5 separate regions of the Homo sapiens genome follow, and all the other regions are linked to region 4. The links are contacts of gene promoters, found by promoter capture Hi-C in blood cells and fetal thymus (Javierre and others, 2016). All regions are on one chromosome and are shown on one strand. Each heading gives the region's core, a stretch centred on a gene start or on the middle of the fragment in contact. The rest is flanking DNA. Distances are from core to core; before and after follow the strand shown.

Region 1 (2,700 bases), core at 46-2,545, 210 kb after region 4:
CCCACAGCCAAGTGTGTGGCTCGGAAGCAAGATGCTCTGGGTTTCCATCACCTCTGCCACCTTACTTCACTTCTCAGGCCTCCTCCCACATCTCATACGGAAAACTAGGTAAAATCATGCTCACCACCCAAAACTATAAGGATTTGTTTTCATGGAAATAATTTGAATAGTGCCTAGCACACAAGTATTCAACAAGTGTCAGCAGGAGTCCAATTGCTTGATACAATTATTTCCCAGCCTCAAGGAAAACTTAACTTAATTGGAGAAGTAGGACCATATTTTGTGCTTCGCTTTTCCCCACAACACAAGGCCCAAGGCTGCTCACATTAAAACGCTCAACAATTGGGAAGTAAGAGTAACTAAGGACAGGACAGAGGGGGTGTCTATAAGGCAAAGGCTTGAGGGTAAGAAAAAACTGCAGAAGAAACAGGAAAGAAACTGCAAAGGTTTTCCTGACGAAGCTACCTACCCACCTCACACAGCGCCAGCCCTACAAGGATTCCCTCCATGTTGTTTCTGTAACAAGACAATCCCATACCTTATAGCAGGAGGCCTCAACCCCTGGACTGTGGATCAGTACTGGTCCATGGCCTGTTAGGAATCAGGCCACACAGCAGGTTAGCTCTGCCTCCTGTCAGATCAGCGGCGGCATTAGATTCTCATAGAATGAACCCTATTGTGAACTGCGCTCGCGAGGGATCTAGGTTGTGCGCTCCTTATGAGAATCTAACGCCTGATGATCTGAGGTGGAACAGTTTCATTCCAAAACCATCCCGTCCCCCACCACTGTCTGTGGAAAACCTGTCTTCCACGAAACCAGTCCTGGTGCCAAAAAGGTTGGGGACCCCTGCCTTACAGCAAGCCAAGTTTCCTTCTACTTATTTGCTCGCTCTCCCCGTGGAAAACTGTAATGTCTTTTAACGGGTCTCCTTTGGTCCCAAGTGTTCTTACAAAATGTTTTGTGTACATGCATTTTTAATTTATATAAATGGTGTTACATTATAGATCTCAATTTCTTACCTTTTCCCCTCGGCATTGTGTTTAAGATGGATCCAGATGGCTACGCATATATCTAAGCCAATGCTCGTAACAGCTACCTGGCACTCCCTGGGGTACCCACATTTCACCTACTCTTTCTACCTCCCAATAGCCATCACCCAGACTGTCTCCAGCTCTCCACCATCATAAGTACAGTCCCCTGAAAATTTTCACCCATGCCACATCTTGTCTTCTGTCCTAGGTTTAAGTAAAAGTGCAGGTTAGGCTGTGCCATCAGTCCTTCCCTGTCATCACTCCAGGTCAGGTGCCTCTCCTCCACCTTGGCCCCAGGAGAGTGTTCTTGACAAACGGAGAAAAACATCCAGTATGAACTTTTTTTTTTTCTTTTGCTAGTAGCAAGTTTTATTCTAAGCAACCGCAAATCATCCAAGGGGATGTTCACATATGACCCCAGAGCCCACTCCCATCCCCCCAGACAGCAGCGGGGCACACATTCAACACTCCTGAGACAAGCCATCTGTGTGCTTTTTCTGTACCCTCTCTGGAATAGGCAATCCCAGAATGCATTTGGAAACTGTAATCCGAACCACCTCAAGTAAGGATTGGTGTAATAGGAACAAACTCAAATAACCACTGGTACAAGGTGAACAACCTTAAGTAACAAAGTAGTTTTCTACTCTGGGAGGCTGCAGAACATAGCCAGGAGGAGGTGGGAAGAGGAGAGGGGTATGCCGAGACACCGCAAGTCCCAGACCACAGCCATACCATCAGCAACTTCACTGGAATCTTTCTTCTCAACAGGGCTGCAGGGTCTACCCCTCCGACTCTTTTCCTCTTGGTCCTTTTGAGACAATTTGAGAGCACCAGGCACTGCACGAGGGAACCTAGCACCGTGTCCCCTGCTCTCCGGCCTAAGTAAGCATCAGTGGGCTAAAAGAGCCCCATTAACAACTCCCTCCTAGAGGGTAGGTCCAGTCCCCAAGTTAGGAACAACTTCTACAACTCTTAAAATGTAAAAAACAAGTGTTGGGCTGTATTCTTTAAAAAATCAACTAAAATCTAATTCCAAAAAAGGTTCTTCAGAGCAGGGCTAAGCAGTTCATTTAAATTATTTCTTCTACTTATTATTAAACAAAGAGATTATAAAACAAGAAAAAATGGAGGGTTATACTTCCCAGAACTCTTCCAGGCAGCTGCTCACCCCTATGGCCCGACTCAACCCCGTGGGAAGACATGAAATGCCGGGACGAGCCCTGGAACCAGCCACCAGTCCCTGTGGGGTCAGAACGCCAACCCCAGCCCACAAGCATTGGCATGAATGAGAAAACCAGAGACCTGAAGGTGCCAAGAAACAGCAAACTTGGCAGCAGGATGAAGACCTGGCCTGGACTCTTCTTCCACAGGGTTTTCAGGACAGCCTTTGGGCTTGGCTTGGTACTGGGACAAGGGAAGGCAATCACAAACAACTGCCCTCAGGAAGAACTCAGTCCCTGACTGCAGTGTCTCTTCGGGGGAACCAATGCCACCCCCCTCCATCCCCCAGACGGGCGAGGGGCTGCACCCTTAAAGCAGGCCATTGGGCCTTCCGGGCTCCAGGGCCAGCCCACCCCGCTCCCGCTGGTGGATCTTCTGGTGCTGCAGGAGGTGCTGCTTCTGGACAAAGCTCTTCTCACACTCAGTGCAGCTGTAGGGCCGCTCACC
Region 2 (2,700 bases), core at 195-2,694, 250 kb before region 4:
CCTGTAGAAAGAAATCTCTATCCAAGTAAGATGCACCTTTGTTTTAAGCTGTGCAGATTCTTGGCACCTCTTTGACTCAAACGTCCACTTCCTGGCTAGGCTTCCTGCCCCATTTGTGGACCATCAGTCGCTAAAAGCAGTTCACCAACATGAAATTTGCTGCATGGCCAATTATTTAAATTATGGAGACACTTCCTGGCACCCCTATCCCCCAAATTTTAGTTGCGCCTTTGACCCTGTAGACCTGTATTTACCTCAGCCCGTGTGTGTGCGTTAAAAAATAGTTGTGAAGACCTGTCCTGAACCAGGTTTATTGGATGGCTCTGGACACAGACAAAGGCAGGAGTGGAGCTGAAACACATCTTTAAAAATTCCTTGGCTGGGGCCAGGCACGGTGGCTCACACCTGTAATCCCAGCACTTTGGGAGGCCAAGGCTGGTGAATTGCTTGGGCCTGGGAGTTCCAAACCAGCCTAGGCAACATGATGAAACCCCATCTCTACAAAAAATGCAAAAATTAGCCAGGTGCAGTGGTGTACCCCTGTAGTCCCAGCTGCTTGGAAGGCTGAGGTGGGAGAATCTCTTGAGCCCAGGAGGCAGAGGGGGGTTGCAGTGAGCCAAGATCACACCACAGCACTCCAGCCTGGGTGACAGAGCAAGACCCTGTCTCAAAAAAAAAAAAAAAAAATTTCAATAATTCAGATTGGTTGTTTAGCAAGTTGATATTCAGTGGTTTAGCTTTTACCATATTTGGCTTTTGGCTATCTGGTCATTCTGTGAATTGACTTTTGGTGAACTAGTCGGCACTTTTCCCAAATGAATCTAAAGGCAAATTGTGCTGGCCAGTCCTCCATGTGAAAATGGCTGCAACTTTAAAATATTTTCTGATTTTCATTATTATTTCTTTTTCCATCCATGAGATTATTTAAAAGTACTTTTTAATTTCCAAATACGAATCTTTTTATGAGTTATTTTGTTTTTGAGTTTTGCCTTATAGTCAGAGAATGTAGTAAGTGATGTTGATTTTTTAGAATTTTCTGAGACTGCTTTGTGGCCAAGTGTGCAATAGATGTTTGAAAATGTTCCATGTTTGCCTAAAAGAGTACATATATTCTAATATTGGTGTAGGATCTAGTTAGAGCTGTAAAATCAAGCTTATCAATCATGTGGTTTATGCCTTCTATAGTTTATCATCTTTTTGCATTTGGAACTATCAGTTACTAAAGAGGTGTTAAAATCTCATATCAAGTTTGTGCATTTGTCAATTTCTCCCTGAATTTGTGAGAATTTTCGCTTCATGTGTTTGGAGGCTGTGTGCTTACAAATTTAGAATTGTAGTATTTTCCTGGAGAATTGTTCATTCTATTATTAGAAAGTAACACTATCCCTAATAATAGTCTTTGTCTATAATCCATTTTGTTTGATATTGCTGCAGCTACACTAACTTTATTTTGGCAAGTATTTCTTTGATATATCTTTTCCTGTCCTTTTACTTTCAAACTTTGTGTATATTTATGTTTCAGATGTGTGTCATATAAGAGCATGTAGCTAGATTTTGTTGTTGCTGCTGAATCCAGTCTGACAATCTCTATCATAATCATGAATCTACTGATTTGAAAGTTATGCTTTCCTTTTTTATTCATTTGGGGGTTACTCTGTAATTTTACACACATATTTGGTTTAATAGAATCTAATATTACTACTTCTGATCTTCTCGCAAATGATAGAAAGCTTTTTGAATATGAGTTTAATCACACTCTTCCCCTTCTGTCTTGTGTGTAATTATTGTTCTTTTTAGTTACATCTTGTTTTTAAGACTCTCTCCTGATATTTGAAGTCATTGTTTTTGTTTTATACAATCTATGCTGTTTAGATTTACCAATGTGCTTACCACTATCTTTGTTCACTCTTTTTTCTTGCCTCTTTCTTCTTCCTTCTGGGTTCAATGTTCTTCCTGAAGCAGAACTTTTAAAATTTATTTCAGCAAGGATATTTTAGAAGTGGATACTTTCAGTTATATAAAATGTCTTACATTTTTCTCACTCCTGAATGATACTTTAGCCAGGGAGAGAACTGTTTCACACTTCTAATATTTTATTCCATTGTCTCCTGACTTTCATTGTTGCTATTGAAAAGTCTGCTGTCAGTCTAATTATTCCTTTGCATATGATTTAACTTCTCTGGCTTCATTTAAAATCATCTGTTTGGCCGGGCATGGTGGCTCACACCTGTAATCCCAGCATTTTGGGAGGCTGAAGCGGGAGGATCACCTGAGGTCAGGAGTTTGAGACCAGCCTGACCAACCTGGAGAAACCCCGACTCTACTAAAAATACAAAAAAAATTAGCCAGGCATGGTGGTGCATGCTTGTAATACCAGCTACTCGGAGGCTAAGGCAGGAGAATCACTTGAATCCAGGAGGCAGAGGTTGCAGTGAGCAGAGATCGTACCATTGCACTCTAGCCTGGGCAACAAGAGCAAAACTCCATCTAAAAAAAAAAAAAAATCTCTTTATCTGTGGTATCATGAAGTTTCACTGCAATGTGGCTAGGTATGGATCTTTTATTTATCTTTCTTGGAACTCGTGAGTCCTAAATCTGAGGTGTCACATCTTTGTACAAGTCTGGAAAATTCTCAGCTATTATATCTTTTAATATTGCCTCTTCCCAAGCTGGGCATGGTGGCTCATACCTGGAATCCCA
Region 3 (2,700 bases), core at 108-2,607, 170 kb before region 4:
AAGGAGACTAGAAGGTTAGCAATAGTTGGAGTCCTTGTACCAGCATACAGACAATTTTACATGGCATGGGAACTCCAGGCATGACTGACCTTGCCAGGGGGTGGCTCTTCACAAAACCAGAGGTAGTAAGAGACCTAAGAGCCCAAGGAAGTAAAAGTATAGATGAAAAGAAGTCAGTTGGGCAAATTTTCCTCTCAAATTTCCCTGCCCCACCTTCCGGAAACTATGCAATATTGCCCTCAGCAAGGAAGAAGAGAGCAGATGGGCAAGCCTCTTTTGTGATGGCAAATTCCATCTTCATAAAAGAGAACTTGTCTCCTCTGGTGGGCATGATGTGGTGAAGACTGGCTCCAGGTGTCCCAATGTGGACTCTCAGGGGGTCCTAAAAGGGGCTGGGAGAGTGAAACACACACAAGGCACAGACAGAGGCAGCCCAAGGAGACCACAGGGATCAGTGAGAGTTTCCTGGGGCGGGAGTCACTACCTGCCTCATCTCACTGTGCAGAAGCCTTAGCTGGGCAAAGGAGGTGAACTCCAGCACCAGCTTCTATGGCTAAAATGGACAGTAGGTGCCCTGGAAAAAGCCAGCAGGATGGCCACACTACCCAAGAGAGAGAATTTTTCACATCAGCCCCAATGGTATACACACTACTTATGCATAATAACTACCACAAATATTTCACCTTACCAGTACGCCATGAATGAAACATCACTTCCTCAAGGAAAGTGTCCTTACCTCCTGCAATCGCTTTGATATCCCAGTAATAGTCTTATAATATCCCTGCATCTTACCATCTAGTATTTCTCATATTTTCCATTTTTAACTTCTGTGAACATTTGTACATCTTGATCTATTCCTCTAGTTTCAAGAGCCCATGTCTGTTTCAGTCACCATTGGGATAGGTTGTGTACGGACATGGGCTTCCACTCTGGATTAGATGGGAGTGATTGGAGGATTTCTTGCAGAGGAATAACATAAGCTGATTTCGTCCTCTGGCTGGCCTGAGGGCACTAGAGGACATGTATGGAAGCCGGGACACAAGTTCAGGAAGTTGTCACCATAACCTGGATGAGAGATGATTTCAGCTTTGTCTGATGGTGGAGGCAATGAGAAGTGGTCAGATTTTGGATATATTTTGAAGCAGTGTGAACAGGATTTGCTGATGATTTGAGAGCAGGGTGTGAGAGAAAGGGAAAAGTCAAGGATAATGCCAAGGTTTTCTGTCCTGAGCACCCGGCGGGATGGGGGGGCCATTCTCTGAGATGGCCATTTTCATTGCAGCAGAAATGAAATTTGAGGGGGTGGTGGAAGTCAGGAGTTCAATCTGTGATGTATTAAATTGAATCCATCTGTTAAATGGTCTAATGGAGATGTCAAAAATGAAGCTGGAGTTCGAAGGGGAGGTGTTGGCTAAAGATATAAATTTGAGGGTCATCATCCCATTAAAGCCGCAGGATGGAATGAGAGCACTGAGGAAGTGGGAGTGAAAAGAAAAGTGGTCTAGGAACTAAGACCTGGGCCCTCGAATGTTTAAAAATGGGGATGTTAAGGAGAAACCAGCAAAAGAGATTGAGGAAAAGTGGCAGAGAAGTACAAAGAAAACAACAGAAAAAGAGTGACAGCCCCAATGTCGATTGAAAAAAAAATGCTACTGAGGGCTTGAATTAAAGATGAGAATCACCCATGACACATGGTCACCAAGGACTGTGACAAGCACAGTCTCAGTGAAGTGGAGCACTTGGGTGGGTGTTCTCCTGGGAAGCCCTCCTGACCCTCCTGATGGGTGGGACCCCTGCCACATGCTCCATGGCTCCTGTATGTCTATCAAAGCACACACAGTTCACCATAATTGCTGCAAAGATGTGCCTGTAGGGTTCCCTGTATATCATGAATGGCCAGTACATATATGAATATGCTCAAATGTGTCAATAAAAAAGAGAGGATATATTAATGGAAGGAGATCCCAGGGAAAGCCAAAGGGTGGATAAAGAACACAGGATGTGCTCTAGAGAGGAGCAGGCAGGCTTTTCCTCTTAGCCTGGAGGGGATGAGGAGAAGGTGAAGATGCAGAGCAGAGGATGCTGGGGGGCCTCCATGGCCTTGGTCTTCTCAGTCAGATAGAAAACAAAGTCTTCCAAAGAGAATAAAGGAGGTAGGGTGGGAATCATTACTTGGGAAGAAGGGCAAAGTGTGAATCAGGCACTGTGGGAAATGGAGAAGAAGTGAATTAGAAAGGAATAGAATCATTGCTCATTAGAGAGAGGCACTGGTTGAGGTCAAACTGGTGTAGATTTGCAGTGGGACCATTTGCCTGGCTCTACAATTTACTCCATCAAAGACTGGCTTCCCCAGAGCAAAGGTGGGAAAGGCCAAAGGCGTGTGTATCCGCGGAAGCAGAAGGGCTCATGAGAGAGGTAGATAGACCACAGACCAAGCTCTCAAAGGAGCTGGAATCATGACTGAGAGGCCAAACATGGGATCAATAATGGGCAGGCAGATAGCTGAGCCCCAAGGTGGCCCTGCGGTCATGGGAACAGAGAGAGGTAGACAAGATTAAGGTCAAAATGAGGATAATGAAACATTTTTGGTAACAGTAAGAACATGTAAACATCAGAAAACGTGTCATAAAAGGACTTTTCTGATTCTAAGATCTTGAAAGGGAATAGTTTAAGTGATGATCAGGTTTGGCTATGAATGCT
Region 4 (2,700 bases), core at 187-2,686:
ACAGTCATCATGTCGGCAAACGTTCTGAGTCCATTATCAGTAAGTATGAGCCAGGATGGGGAAAGAGAAAATCACACGATAGTGGGTGTGTAAGTAGGCACCATCCCTTCAGTGAGCAGTTCGGGAAGCCGGGGAAAGATGAAGGTGCTCTTGCCATCCAGAGTCCCATGTCTAGGCGTCTCTAGAGACGCACTTTAGCAGTGCACAATGAGACATGCATGCAGATGTCGCTGGCAGCAGGTTTGTTCTCATTCCTCTAGGGGGAATGGAACGTAAACTGTAGTTTATGTATTCAATGAAATACTATATTGTGGGTAAAATGAATGAACCAGATATTCTTGTTTAAACATGTCTGTATCTCAAAAACAAAATGACCCATGGAAAAAAGCAAGTTGCAACAGGATAGGGACTGGATAATATCATTCACATAAAATGTAAAAATACCAAAACCAGTAGTGTGCATTGTTTACGAATGCACACATGTTAGTTAATGCATAAAGACCTGGGTGAGAACTCTAGCCTCCGGGAAGGGAGGGGACAGGATGCATAGCTCTGGCCTTACCTCTATCTGTAACTTTCCTTTTTTTTGTTTTTTGAGACGGAGTCTTGATCTGTCCCCTAGGCTGGAGTGCAGTGGGGCGATCTCGGCTCACTGCAACCTCTGCCTCCCGGGTTCAAGAGATTCTCCTGCCTCAGCCTCCCAAGTAGCTGGGACTACAGGGCCGCGCCACCACGTCCAGCTAATTTTGGTATTTTTAGTAGAGACAGGGTTTCATCACGTTAGCCAGGTTGGTCTCGATCTCTTGACCTCGTGATCTGCCCACCTCAGCCTCCCAAAGTGCTGGGATTACAGGCATGAGCCACCACGTCTGGCCATAACTTTCCATTATCTGAGCTGCCAGCATACTGAGTCCTGTTGCCTTCCAAGACCAGCTCCACTCCTGGGGTTCCATTAGGTAAACACAATGTCCTCTGCTCCCCCCCGCCGTCTTCCCTCACTTAAGTTAGTTCCAGTTGGGCTTCATCGCTAGTAACCAGGACGCCTGCCTATAGTTTCTTCTTTTTTTTTCCTTTTCAATTCATCCCCAGTTCTCGCCACCTCGTAGGTATTCAATTAATACATGTTTAAGTGGACCTGTCCAGGAAGGGGAGTTCTCAACTCTAAGCTCCTGCATTTCTTTTGGGACTTCTCATGGTTACAAAGAGCATTCATTCATACTGTGACTGAGGGTAAACAAGTCGCTGCCCACTCGGCCTCAGTTTCCTCCTAAATGACCCGTCTGGCCACTTCCAGCCCCAGCAGGGTCTGATTCTAGGAATTCGGTCCTTTCATGTCGAAAACAACACTCGGGCATTTCACAAAAGCACCCAACCCCCTGGCTCCCCTTGGAAGCACAGCCCGCGTCCCTGGAACCCGGGCTGCACTGAGCTGGTCACATGAACTCCGGGCTTTCTCTGGTGTGACGGGTTTCTTAGATCCCTTTGTGAGCGCAGGTTTTGAAAGGGAACGACCCCGGGTTCTGGGTGTGAGAGGCGCAGGGGATCGGCGGGAGGAAGGCTGTCGGAGCCAATCAAGCCGCCTCCAGACCCCAGCACGTCGCCTGGGCTGCGCGCTCCGACTGCGCCTCCGCCCGCGCGCCTCCCGGCCTCGCCCGAGGGTGCCTGGGCAGGCGAGGACCCCAGGTGAGAGGCCGGAGGGTCCTGGAGGGTGGGAGGCCCCGGCGGTTCGGCCCGGGCTCCACGACGGGCTGGCCCGGGCTCAGGGCGTGTCCGTCGCCGCCGGGCGGCTCGCTCGACACTGTTCGCTCCTACCGGCTGTAGATGGAGCTGTCTGGGTTCCGGCAGCCTCCGACGAGCCTCGGAGTGTTTCTCTTTAAACGGCCTGAGAGGGACATGCCTCCCAGGATGCAGTTTGTAGCAACATGGCAGCTGCTGTGCAGCTCCCCTGCTAAAGAGGCGCCGGGACGGCAGCGCAGCTCGCAGCCGGGGCCGGGGCCGGAGCTGGGGTCCCAGCCGCGGCCGCAGAGGGGCGGCGCGCGGGCCGGGGGCCGCCGTTGAGGGCCGGGGCCCAGCTCGCCGCCGGGACGCAGCCGGCCGGGCCGCCCGCACAGCCGCGCGCCCAGCTCCGACGCCGCCGCTCGGGCTCCGCGACCCCGCGCCCGCTCGCCCCGCGCGCCCCGAGCAGGCCGGGGCCCGACGGCCGCGCGCGAGCCCCGGCGGGGAAGACAGGGCTGGGCCGGCGCCGCCTGCGGAGAGCGCCGGGCGGCCGGGCCTGCGTGGGGCCGCGCGCAGTAGCGGCGGCGGCAGTAGCGGCGGCGACTCCGGGGGCCCGGGCCGGACAGCGCAGGGCCATGGCCGAGGCGGCCCCGGCTCCTGTGAGGGCGGCCCGCGCGCGCACGGACGCGCGGCCTCGGGGCCCCGGGGACGGCCTGCGTGTCCCGGGCTCGGCGGCCCGGCCTGGGATCTCGGTAAGGGGCAGAAACGCTACGACGTTGGCGCGGGGGGTGGGGGCGCCCTGGAGGGGGCCCGCGCGTCTTGACCCGGGCGGTGGGGGAGGGCTACGGGCCTCGCCGCCGTCCGTGCGAGGGAGGCTGCTCTCACGCCCGGCCCGGCACACACGCGGCCCCGAGGTGGGGCGCCCGGAGGCGCGCTCGCTCCCTGCGGGGCCCGCGCTGCGTCCGTCGGGGTAGCCGCCGGCAC
Region 5 (2,700 bases), core at 17-2,516, 220 kb after region 4:
GAAAGCAAATACTGTGTTCTCTAAGTCTCCCAATCTCTCCGTTCTTAGTTCTTAACGCACTTTCTACAAGAATCAAATATAGCGCACCCTGCTCATGGTCAAATTTTCCCCACAGAATTTCCTTAGCCCTCCATTCTCACAAAGATCTAACATGATTCTCGAAGTGTTTCTAGACCAAGGAACACTTCATTAAAAGTCAATTCAATTCCAGCTGCCCCTTCCGTTGCAAACCCTCTGGTGTTGTTAAATTAACCACTACTTTGAAACAGTATGGGAACAGTATGAGAATGTCGGAGCTGGAAGGAAACTTAAAGCCTTGGAGATCATCTAGCAACTACTCCAACACTCTCGATTTACAGTTAAGAAAACGAAAGAGACCCAGAGAAGCGAACACAGTTGCCTAAAATCACCCAAATGGACAGCTGAAAGCTTCGTGACTCCACAAATAGGATTTTCCTCACACCAAACTCCGTATCTTGACATTCCCAGAATGGGGATGGTCGGTGGGCTGGGAGGGGGGTGTTGGGGGGGGGGTGAAGGAGAGAGTTTGGGCAGCTCTACAAACAAAATGCAGCAACTGCACTGTAGATAACATCCGTCCCCAAGGAGAAGCAGCCCAGGCTGACTTCAACCTGTGGCTGCAACCCCCAGACAGAAATCTGCAGCACTGGAAAAACCGACAACACATCGGACCGAAGAGGAGGTGGTCGCAGAGAGGCAAGTCCTGGGGTCTCCCGGGCAGCGGGAGAGCTCACTCGTAGCGACGGAGACCGTTTCCAATCTGGAAACACTCCAACCTGGGAACGGGCTCTTTTGGCACGAAAGAGAAAATGTGTGGGCAGGGTCACAAATCCACCAACCTAAAGCAAGCGTCAGAGAAGTTTCTGGGCAAGGGCGCACGGCGCCGAGGCTCCGACCCCGCTGCAGAAGGAAGCGGAGGGAAAAAAGGGCAGAGCACTGGGGTCGCGAAGAGGAGGGTCCGCGTTCACCCGCGCCAACGGCAGCCCCGGGAAACCAAGACCCCGGCGGCGTCCAAACCGCGAAGCCCCGCCCCCGGCAGGGGACTCCGCCATCCCCAACGCGCCCTCGAGCCAGCGCGCCGGTGCCTCTTTACCCGAGCAGGCGCCGACTCCGCCATGGCTCCAGTCGCCCCTCAACACCCAGACCCCGCCTCGGAGCCCCCGTGCTGCGTTCCTGTCCGCTCGGCGCCCCAGAGCCTGTTGGAAGCCGCCGCCGCCGCCGCCGTGTTGATGCCAGGTGCATTCTGGGAGCAGCGACCTCCCCGGCACAAGACCGGCTCCAGCCGCTCTTCCTCACTGTGCAGGCTTCCCATTGTGCCCCCGTGCGGCGGGAGGGAGAACGCTGCTTGGCACTCCCGGCCAGAGTGCGGGCACCAGGAGGGCTCAGTCACTCAAAAGTCAAGACCAGGTTCCGCGTTTCAGGCAAAGCCACGGGATCCTGCTGTCTTCCGTATGCCCAGCACTCTGCTAAATGCTTTGAGGGATTCAAAAATGTGTACAACTCAGACTTTTTGCTGAGGAAAGAACATGTAATGTTGTTGGGGAAAAGAAATATGGTTCCAAAAGGCAAGTGATTTTATTCCAAAAGTTCACCTGTTATTTGGCTTTTTAGAAACTGGGAACAGTTTCCATATCAACAGTGTGGAGCGTGGGGTCAGGCCCAGGCCAGCCCTCTGTAGCCTGTTAATTATGGTAATCATGTGCCTTGGAAAGTCCAAGACAACCCTGATTTCAAATATTTCCAGTCCTCATGCTACATGTAAGACGATGTGTCTGGAATTTTTGTTGGAAAGCACGGCCACATGACCATTTAATCGCCATGTACTTAATCCCCAATACCAGCAACACTACGGCAACCATAGCTGCCTAATTTATACCATTGTCTCTCTGGAGACAAGCAATGAACTTCCACTTCACAGGATAGGCGTGAAGTGTTTCCTCTGAGAACGAAACTTTTTTTTTTTGAGATGGAGTTTCGCTCTTGTTGCCCAGGCTGGAGTGCAATGGCGCAATCTCGGCTCACTGCAACCTCCACCTCCCGGGCTCAAGCGATTCTTCTGCCTCAGCCTCCCTAGTAGCTGGGATTACAGGCATGTGCCACCACGCCTGGCTAATTTTGTATTTTTAGTAGAGACGGGGTTTCCCCATGTTGGTCAGGCTGGTCTCAAACTCCCGACCTCAGGTGATCCGCCCACCTCAGCCTCCCAAAGCGCCGGGATTACAGGTGTGAGCCACCCCACCCGGCGGAGAACGAAACTTTTAAGATCATGACTGGCTCCTTCCTCACATGCAGGGCTCAGTTCAGATTCTACATCCTCAGAGAGATATCCCCAGTCCCCCCTTTCTACAGCCCCACACCATCCTCCATCTCAATACTCAATCTCGTTACCCTGCTGGAAATTTTTCATACCATTTATCACCATCTGAAGTAATCTCTCTTTTTCACTCATTTACATATTAATTATCTGTATCTCTTCCACTGAAATGTCTGTCTACTGTATCCTCCATTTGTTGTACACAGAAGTGTTCATATTTGTAAATGATTGAATGGTGAATCAGAGTGTAAGGATATGAAATGTCATCTCAAACAGAGGCATTATTTCCAGGGCAACTAGATCAACGGGCACGTCACTGAATCATTAATAAATCTAGAGAAAGAATGGGCCAGGCTGAAGAAACC

Evidence for each region. Contacts are between HindIII fragments. The CHiCAGO score rates a contact against its expected background, and 5 or more counts as called.
Region 1: a fragment that was not itself captured here is called in contact with the fragment with the promoter of ZNF777 in region 4 in 5 of 17 cell types (total CD8 T cells, naive CD8 T cells, naive CD4 T cells and 2 more); the score reaches 6.9 in total CD8 T cells.
Region 2: a fragment that was not itself captured here is called in contact with the fragment with the promoter of ZNF777 in region 4 in 1 of 17 cell types (naive B cells); the score reaches 5.5 in naive B cells.
Region 3: a fragment that was not itself captured here is called in contact with the fragment with the promoter of ZNF777 in region 4 in 2 of 17 cell types (naive B cells and neutrophils); the score reaches 6.1 in naive B cells.
Region 5: a contact is called between the fragment with the promoter of ZNF212 here and the fragment with the promoter of ZNF777 in region 4, in 7 of 17 cell types (naive CD4 T cells, total CD4 T cells, non-activated CD4 T cells and 4 more). The highest score is 8.5, in naive CD4 T cells.

What each region holds. Positions count from the first base shown.
Region 1 is chr7:149,254,278-149,256,977 of GRCh38, reverse strand. It overlaps ZNF212 (zinc finger protein 212), which reads right to left. Exons shown (of 5, transcript NM_012256.4): 5 at 1,372-2,700. The coding sequence ends at 2,563. LOC124901769 (a long non-coding RNA gene) reads left to right here. Exons shown (of 2, transcript XR_007060582.1): 2 at 1-1,004. Among named protein-coding and RNA genes, the nearest start is that of ZNF783, 6.6 kb to the left of the region's middle. The HindIII fragment of the contact is 4,757 bases long and covers 1-2,700 here.
Region 2 is chr7:149,710,441-149,713,140 of GRCh38, reverse strand. No RefSeq gene overlaps it. Among named protein-coding and RNA genes, the nearest start is that of KRABD3, 3.2 kb to the left of the region's middle. The HindIII fragment of the contact is 577 bases long and covers 1,156-1,732 here.
Region 3 is chr7:149,631,173-149,633,872 of GRCh38, reverse strand. No RefSeq gene overlaps it. Among named protein-coding and RNA genes, the nearest start is that of TRC-GCA9-3, 3.2 kb to the left of the region's middle. The HindIII fragment of the contact is 2,807 bases long and covers 1-2,700 here.
Region 4 is chr7:149,459,798-149,462,497 of GRCh38, reverse strand. It overlaps ZNF777 (zinc finger protein 777), which reads left to right and starts at 1,436. Exons shown (of 6, transcript NM_015694.3): 1 at 1,436-1,683. RefSeq lists silencers at 1,456-1,795, 1,966-2,035, 2,326-2,405, 2,416-2,700. The HindIII fragment of the contact is 6,109 bases long and covers 1-2,700 here.
Region 5 is chr7:149,238,217-149,240,916 of GRCh38, reverse strand. ZNF212 (zinc finger protein 212) reads right to left here and starts at 1,266. Exons shown (of 5, transcript NM_012256.4): 1 at 1,115-1,266. The coding sequence starts at 1,138. RefSeq lists an enhancer at 1,205-1,499. The HindIII fragment of the contact is 6,599 bases long and covers 432-2,700 here.